Regions from separate parts of the Homo sapiens genome. Here region 2 is linked to region 1. The links are contacts of gene promoters, found by promoter capture Hi-C in human tissues and cell types (Jung and others, 2019). All regions are on one chromosome and are shown on one strand. The core of a region is centred on a gene start or on the middle of the fragment in contact, and the rest is flanking DNA. Distances in the headings are between cores, read along the strand shown.

Region 1 (4,621 bases), core at 1-2,500:
AAAAAAAAAAAAAAAAAAAAAAAAAAAAAAAAATTCTCAGGGCCAGTTCAAAGGGAAAATGGCCAAAGCTTAGACCAAGAAATAGGGTTGGGGAGTTGTGGCCAATCTCAATTCCTACTGCTTCAGAACTGGAGTAGGGAGACAGCTTACCAGAAGGAACCATTTTTCTTCTGGTCATTTCCTTACATCACCAACAAGCTGCCAAAAAGACTTGAGAACGGTAAGCAAAACCAAGTCCCGAAACCCTGAATGCAACCTCTCACTTAGGTGCTAGGGTAGGATGTTGGGTCAGGTGTGTTAAGGTAAAAAGGGTGACATATGTAGTTAAGCACATTTACCAGATTCTCCCGTAGCTTACTTTACTATTCAGAGGTCCAACCCTACCTCGTACTCAACTATTTTTATTCTCTATCCCAGGAAGAAACAGTGTAGGGGCAACAGTCTCTGAGAAAATTAATTAACATCGCTCATTAAATAAGAGCGCCGATTCCAACGCCCTGACTGGTTTCCAGCCCGGGTTCCACCACTTCCCAAATATTTAAGTTTGGAAGTTACTCAACTTTTCTAAACCTCACTTTCCTTAACTACTAAATGGGTAATAATAAAAAGAACCACCCATAATTCTGCAGTCGGCCTCGTAAGCGACCAATAAAAGCTGCCGATGGAACTTGTCTTCCGAAGGCTGATGCAATGGCCGTTTGGAGAAACAAGTTCAGCGGCCTCCTTTTACTGACAGGTACAACAGTGCCCGGATAACGGAGAAAGGACTGGCCTTAGGTCACACGGAGTGAGGGGAGAGAACCCAAATTTACCCACAGGTACCACAGGCTGGGAGAAGAGGCCGGGAGAGTGGTACATCCCTCCCTTGGGGGCTTAAGAGACTTCTCACCTTCCAGGCCATGCATGACCTCGGATCTCCTTACCTTCCTCGGCCTAAGAAAGAGGCACGGCTGATGGCCTCAGTTTCCCCGTCTGTAAAATGGGGCCGTGAGTGCACGGTCGTAGAGGCCGAGAAGCTTGGTCCCCTGGCCTACGCTCAGATAGCTCTCGCCTTCCAGCCCACAACCACCCCGGCTGGCTCGCTAGCCCCTCAGAGTCCTCACGCTCCCGACTCCCCGCCTGCAATGCTTACTTGCTCTCCCACGCGGCACTCCAGGCCAGTAGGCGCTGCACCCGCAGCCGGCCCGCCCACAGCGACCGTACGGCCATGTTTCCAATTTGGGCTGAGAGGCAGCGCACGCGCACTTGCTGCGAGTGAAGAGATGCTCCCGCTTAAAAACCAGCCTTTGCGGGCGTTTCCCTCTCAGGACTTCCGGACAGGAACGCTATGCTTCCGGTTGCCCGATGGGCCGCGCCGTTCCCCATCCGGTCGTCCGGAGCTAAGGCAACACTTCCGGCTCTCAGTGTGTTCCGCGGGTAGGCGAGGTCCTAGTAGTAACTACAGTCTCCGTGCTGGGCGCAGGGTCGGCAGCAAAGAAAGCAGATCATAGCTGTGCCCGCATGGAGCTTACTTGATATTATGAGCGATAAACAGATACAAGCGGGATGTAAAGTCAGAATATGAGCGGTGTTTGAAGGTGAGGGGCAGGTGTCGCGGAAGCCTAGAATAGAAATCTAGCCTTGTGGAAAGTTTTCCCAGAGGAAGGGGGTATTTGAGCTGAGCTGAAGAAAGGGTTCAGGCAGAGGGAAACATCTGCAGAAGCCTAATAAAGAGAGAAGAGTATTGCATGTAAGGGACTGAAATATACTGAGGCGGGAGGGCAACAGGACTGGTGGTTAGGAAGGGCTAGATCACGTGAGCGGTTTAAAACATCGCAGCCTGAACCATTGCCCATCACTCCTCCCAGTCTTTTTCTCTAATGCCCTTCTTATCGACTGAATTGTTTTTTTAAATAGTGTGTATTTTCTCATTTCCTCTCACTAAAATATAAGCTCTTTTAAGGCAGAGATATTGTCTATTCATTCCCATTGAGCAGTGCCCTAATGTAGGTGTTCAAAATTATTTTTTTTGAGATGGAGTCTCACTCTGTCACCCAGGCTGGAGTGCAGTGGCACGATCTCGGCTCACTGCAACCTCTGCCTCCCAGGTTCAAGTGATTCTCCTGCCTCAGCCTCCTCAGTAGCTGGGATTACAGGCGCCCACTACACCCGGCTAATTTTTGTATTTTTAGTAGAGACAGGGTTTCACCATGTTGGTTAGGCTGGGCTTGAACTCCTGACCTCAGGTGATCTGCCTTCCTCAGCCTTCCAAAGTGCTGGGATTACAGGCATGAGCCACCGCCCCCGGCTTCAAAAAACTTTTTTGCTGAATGCAATTTAGTCTGATTCTGATTGCAATGGAATGTGAAAATAAATAAAACCTAAAAGCTGTTGGAACCTCCCAAATACTTGAAGCTTTGAGAGAGATGTGGCTGTGGTCTGAGTCCATGTAGCATGTTTTGTAGTTCTGCTTCTTAGAATTATAGCTTAATTCTCTTCCTCATTGTTCTTGTTCTGTAATGACTAGGAAAGAGCAGAGACCAGATTTCTTCCCTCTCAATTACTGATGTTTGTAATAGACAGCCTCCTTTATTGTCCTGCACCTAACTCAGACTAGATGGTGCCCTGAACTGAACTGACCCCATGACAGTTACATCTGCAGGATGTGATGTTAAATGTACCTTTCTTGAAGGAAAAAGACCACCTTAACTACTCAGATCATTGTAACTGTGCATTAAGCCTTGCATAGAAAGATGTTGAAATTCTGTTAAACCTCACTGAACCCAACCTTTCACACTTTGGAACACTGACTTCCATCTTTTTTAAGACAGACATATTTTTCCATTCTGTGCTTCCTGGGCAGGCCATCCTCAACCTTTGTGCTTGAATAAACTCTCTTTAAACTAGATTCTGACCTTTTAAATTATTTTAGATTGACAGGGAACATGTGACAAAGGCTTTCATGTTTAAAGAGTCACTTTGACTGCTGTGTGAAGCAGATTGCAAGGTGTAAGAAAAGAGGTAGGGAAGGCAATATGTTGCAGTAGCCCAGGCAAGATGGGGCTATATTCTGTCCTGGAAGAACAGAGAGAGACCTTCCTAACCACTGTAAAGTAACTGTGTCCAGCACCCTTTTAGTTTCTTAGTATTTTATTTCTTTTGCTTCCTTGTTAAGGTTTTTTCCTCCAACTAGAATGTGAGCTTCATGAGGTGTCTGTCTTGTTCACCACTGATTTCTGACATCTAGTATAGTAGGTACTCAAGTATTTGTTGAATGACTTAATTAAGTTGGATAGTGTCAGTGAAGATAGGAAGATATGGATGAATTTTAGAGATTTAGGATGGAAAGCTGACAGACTGAGAGGATGGATTGGTGACTGGGGTCCAGGGCACTTGGAGTTGCCAGCTTAGTTACTGGATAGTCCCTTAATTTTTTTTTTTAAGGGAATGGGAAGTGTTCCTTGAGCACTCTGAATCTTGTCATAACATGGGTTATTTGTACTGTAGTTATTTGGGTCACATTTTCTTTCCTGCTTGTCTCTGAGTTCCATGAGGACAGAGCTGGAGTATTTTCATCTTTTTATCTAATCCGAGGTCCAACTCAAATGTGTCATGACCAATAACTTATATTTTCTTTTTGGCCTTATGAAAAGGGTGATATGGTTTAGGGAGGTATTATGATTCTCTTTTACATATGAGAAAATTGAGGCTCAGAAAGGTTGGTAAACCTATGCAAGATCCCGCAATAAGGAAACAGTGACAGTAGAATTCTGACAGACTGAACACTTGGCAGTGTTGGGCTTAGACCTGTGGCTTACACTTTGAAAAAACACAACCAAATAAGGCATTTTTTTTTTTTTGAGATGGAGTCTTGCTATTGCCCAGGCTGGAGTGCAGTGGTGCGATCTCGGCTCACTGCAACCTCCACCTCCCGGGTTCAAGTGATTCTCCTCCCTCAGCCTCCCAAGTAGCTGGGACTACCGGCATGTGCCACCGTGCCCAGCTAACTTTTGTATTTTTGATAGAGATGGGGTTTTGCCATGTTGGCCAGGCTGGTCTTGAACTCCTGACCTCAAGTGATCCACCCGCTTCGGCCTCCCAAAGTGCTGGGATTACAGGCATGAGCCACCATACCTGGCCTAAACAAGGCATTTTAACAACCAAGAACAAGTGGCATCTGTGCCTTAGCCATTTTGCTTACATTTCTCCTAGCTGCCTAACGTTCACCAGGTTGCTGCTTGCATCCATGCATTCATTCGTCTATTTATTAAGTGCTAGTGTGCTTCTGAATGTTGCAGTACAAGGGGAGGGAGATATATGGATGACATAGAGCTTTAAAATTAAGAATAAGGCTCTAGGGTCAGACTTCTTATATTCACATGCTGGCTCCACCAGCATGTAAATATAAGAACTATGGGAGCTTGGACAAGTTACCTGACCTCTGTGAGCTTCCATTTCCTGAACTGTGAAAACTAGGGCAATATAACTTATCTCAGGGTTTCAGTGAAAACTAAAGGGATAATACCTAGAAAAGTGGTTAGTTAGCACCAGGACTGGCTATCTAATTTAAAGGGCAAAAGGAAAAGCAGAACTCCTTGTTCAAATATGATTAAGAAGGCAATAGTAGAGCATTAAACCAAGA
Region 2 (4,621 bases), core at 899-3,398, 620 kb after region 1:
GAAACTGAGTTATTTGAGCTGCAGCCATTATCTCTACTAGTTATATGTTTGAAAACTATCAGCATAAAAAGCTAAACATGCATGTTGTGCAATACCATCAGAGATTCTGATGAACACTGTTCTTGTCTGTTTCCAATAAGCATTCAGTCTAGTGAGGAGAGAAACTAGAAATAAGACAATTACACTAATTCTTGCAATTTGCATTTCCTACTAACACAAAAACACTTTTAAATAAGCAATATATGTACAGAAATAAACAAAATAAACTACAGGCTTGTATTGAGTTTACATTCTTACTTAATATGATCCAGAGTTCTAGGGTTTAGTGGTATGGGCCAGAGAACTTATTTTTCCATCTGGGAGTTGGTAGTTGAGAAGGATTTTAACATGTGGTAGGAGAAGGGTTCAAGACTTAAGGAAGAGTCTGAATAAAGGCACAATAATGTGGCTGTGCAATATGTGCCCAGGCACTGTGGCATTAGTAAAGGAGATTTATCACTGAAATACTAGGTAGAAGTATGGTTAGAATATGGAAAAGTCACATGTCTAATTTTCCTTTCTGTAGTACTAAATCAAACATTTTAATGAAATTACTGAGTAGAGGCAATACCTACCCATGGGTTTTAAAGATCTCAAGAATGAAATTTTACAACCGTTGGCCAACATATCTAGTTTCACTGGAAATTTTATAAGTATAGAAGAAAGTGGAAATGTTAATAAAGAGAAAGAAGCCAGTTGGCTGTCCCCTACTTGATGAGATTACCTCATTCTTAATTGAAAATGAGCTTGACAAACATAATGACACTGATTACATTTCCCCAAAAACTGGCTTGTAGACCAGAATTCTTTCCTTGACAGGTTCAGTAGGAATTCTACCAGTCAGGACAAATAACATGTGTCATGACGTGAGGTTTTGCTTATTGATGAAAGAGAAAAATCCAGACAGAAGATAGCTTGGTCAGTACAGGATTAAAATAAAAGGAACCTGGTATTGTTAAACACCAAAGTGGAACATTTGGATATTTGGCCATCTTTTGCCTAAGTAAAATTCTGCCTCACTCTCTGACAAGGGTGAAAGTCATACTGATCATTTTAAATCAGAATTTTCCACTTTTCTAGACCAGTTTTGTTGGGCTATCACAAAACTACATATCATAGATTGCTTAGGTTGTATTTTAATCTCTTCTATCATATGTGAGAGACATCCTAGTCTAATCAGCAACATATTCTTAGAGCTAATTACTTCTGCAGTTGGTAATCTCATCTGTTTCACTTGGCTTTAGGAGGGTGACTCATTAAAAAAGAAAATTTTATTGTTTATTTTCTTAGTATGAAATTCATACACATCTAAAGTCATATACATTTGATGTAGAAAATTTGAGTATAAACATAAACAAAAATTTAAAAAACCCAAATCTTCTATTATTGCATATATATAAAAGGAAACATATTGCATATACCATTTACTAACTCACATTTGCCAGAACAATTTTTAAAAATCTTTCTATGTAATTAACTATCCAGGCGTAAAGTTCTTTTTTAATAGCATATAGTACTTTGTTGAATGCATATTTCTTGGTTTACTTGACAAATCCCATTGTTTTGAATATTTAGATTGTTTAAATTTTTGTTTCATTGAACACCCTTGTGGTTTATTTTTATTTTTATTATTTTTTCCCACTCATCCATGGTTATTTGCATGAGATAAATTCCTAGATGTGGAATTACTGGGTGAATCTATGAGCACATTTAAAGGCTTTTGCTTTGAGTGATACAGTACTGCCAAACTGACCTTAAGGAAGTTTGTACAATATATATTCCATACTGCATTGTATGAGAATGCCTGTTTTTCTAGATGAAATATGCCATTTTCTAATTTTTTTTCTCCAATTGATGTGGCTTTTCAAATTTGAGACCTATTAATTATTTTAAAGATGGTGATTGTCCAAAAGTAATAGTAAATTTCCAATATGATCTTTACCTATGTTAAATTTGTTGGTCAAATGAGTCAGGTAAGGAGATTGTTTTTAGATATAGTAGTACCAATTTCAAAGTCTTTAGTACGATGGAAATAATTAGCTATAAATTTAAGTGACCTGGCTTTAAATTCTGGCTCTGAAGTCTCAAGCATTGATGTCTCAAGGATTGAAGTCTCAATCCTATAAGTTCCAGGTTTCTTATGTTTAAAAGGTGTATCCAATATGCCCTATCTATTGGTAGGTAAATTAGACCAGGTGGTTTAGGTATGATTCATCTCATTCTCACTTAGAGGAGTAGACCTTGATTGATATAAACCCAAAGGAATAATCCCATCTCCCTCACCTGGTAACTGATTTAGGGATGAGCAACCCAGTTTAAGCCAATCAACATATAGCATTTGCAGTAGATTGCATTATGTTCAAAATATTTCAAACTCATCCTATCTGGATTTTCTTCCAGAAAGATTTTACTTTTCATCCCATTGACAAAAGCTTAGGCAATGATTTTCTTTGCCCTACAAAATGTGAGTGGAAGTTATCTGTGCCAGTTTCAAGCAGAAGTTTTAAGAGTCACCATATAATTCTGCTATTACTCGTTTATTTCTGCTACAAGATTAATATGTCCTAGACAGTGACTTCATCTTCAATTTGGGTTTCAAAATGAAGAGGAGATGGCTCAAGTCTCAGCTGATCTGCAGCTGCCAACATGCAAGTTGAATGAGAATAAACCTTTGTTACTTTGCAAGCCACTGACAGTTTGGGGTCATTTGCTATCCCAGTACCACTTAGCCTAAACTGACTCATTCACCATTCTTTGGGTCAGTAAATGTTTTTCCAGAGTGGGTGCATAATCTAATTTTGTCTATTAGTGATGAAGCTCAAAGCATTTGTTTGGTATCTGAGCAAAGAAACTCTTTGAATGCTCTGATATATAACAGTGTCACCAGACACCTCACCAAATGAAGTAGCATTTTGTTACTGATAGAAATCAGCCAGAGGAAAGAGCAAACAGATGAGAATAGCACCAAGAGAAATGCAGGGAAACAGAGTACCCTAATCTTAAATCAGTGCCTGAAGCTGACATACCTTTGAACTCATCAGTTAAGTGAACCAGAAAAAATAAATTCCCTTTATAGTTTAAGCCACTTTGAGTTGAACTTTCTTTTATTTGCAGCCAAAAGTATTGTGGCTGATTCAAATGTCCTCTGTAACGTGATTCAGCAGAACACAATTTAGGAAGCATGAAAACAGGACAATACCATGAGATGATAATTTCTAGCAAATGTGTGTGTTATTAATGAGCAATTGAAAGAACACAAAGGTGAAACTTAGAAGAGTTTCTGAAGACAAAGAATTCTCAGATTAGGGTGCAATGTGCTTATTTTAGCTTGAAGTAGAAGTGGAAAACTGCGTGGAGAAGAGGGCAAAGAGGTCATTGCTGATTACACACGTTGCTCCAAGTTCTCAATTCTGTACTCTTCTTTGGTTAGTGCTTCTCACTGCCTTAACTGACCTTACAGGACTTCAACAACTGCCTGCTTAACTACATGTCCATTACTAGCCCCCTGTGTTCTCTTAAAGTCCAGACCTGTATCACAGAGGCGTCTTCCTACAGTCATCATTTGACTGGTAGGGGGCTTAATTAATTAGCATTTGTAAGATGTCTCCAGCCCGTTAGTGGATTAGAGGTAATTTGGAAAGCAGCGCCAAGAGCTTTCTATTACCTTCCTCTCTGCTGGTCTCTTTTCCTGCTTCTGGAGTAACTGGCATTGATGTTGACTCAAATGAACTTAAACTTGTTATCCTGTCTCATTTGATTTTTCATTAAATAGATTCCAAAGTATCCCAGAAACACTTTACAATGATCAGTCATTTCTCCTACAGACTAAACAAATTCAATGTTAATGAATAATGCAGTTTTATAATTGCACAAAGGGTGAAGTGTTTGAAACCACAGATAAAATATCTTGGATTCTTAGAGTTTTCTTTTATAAAAACCCTTCTCCTGTAGCCAACTTGGACATCATAGCTCTCCCATGACCGCCACCTAGTAATCCCTTCCTCACACTTAATGAACGCTTCCTTGACAGTCATAGAATTTAAATGTTTTGTTCTTTTTTTCATACCTTGATTGAATATTTTTTGTTCTGTTCTTATTTAGCCACACAGAGAATGATGCAATTAGGAAATACATTTGGGGGCTAATAAGGAAAGCTTGAACCAATACGGTTTAACAAGATGAAGGTTTGTTTTTTCTCATATACAGGTAGTCTGTAGGTTGACTTTCTATAGTTGTAGAAGTGGTTCTAGGATACCACCTATGTCCTAGACTGCTATCTTTTTATTCTGTCGTCATTAACATGTGACTTCCAACTTCAAGGAGCAAGACAGACAAAGTAGCTCCAGATATCAAGTCTTTATTCCGGGCAGGAAGAGGGAGGAAATATGGAAAAACAAAAAAGAGCCTCTTACCCTTCCTGAAAGCCTTATCCAGAACTTAGTTACCTGGCCACTGCTATCTTAAAATGAGGCTGAAAAAAGTAATTTTGTATCAGTGCACACCGATATCCCTGACAAAACTAGGTTTCTATTCTGAAGGAGGAAGGGAAAATGGGCATGAAATTGGTAATTATCAGCTTTTG

Evidence for each region. The method cuts DNA at HindIII sites, captures the fragments that hold promoters and counts their contacts. A contact is called where the count stands out against the background at its distance.
Region 2: a fragment that was not itself captured here is called in contact with the fragment with the promoter of GRPEL2 in region 1 in 1 of the 25 tissues and cell types used here (dorsolateral prefrontal cortex).

Annotation. Positions count from the first base shown.
Region 1 is chr5:149,342,128-149,346,748 of GRCh38, reverse strand. GRPEL2 (GrpE like 2, mitochondrial) reads right to left here and starts at 1,250. Exons shown (of 4, transcript NM_152407.4): 1 at 1,133-1,250. The coding sequence starts at 1,209. It overlaps AFAP1L1 (actin filament associated protein 1 like 1), which reads right to left. Exons shown (of 19, transcript NM_152406.4): 19 at 3,112-4,621. RefSeq lists enhancers at 318-941, 942-1,567. The HindIII fragment of the contact is 4,441 bases long and covers 543-4,621 here.
Region 2 is chr5:148,718,814-148,723,434 of GRCh38, reverse strand. No RefSeq gene overlaps it. Among named protein-coding and RNA genes, the nearest start is that of HTR4, 67 kb to the right of the region's middle. RefSeq lists an enhancer at 3,341-3,912. The HindIII fragment of the contact is 5,202 bases long and covers 1-4,621 here.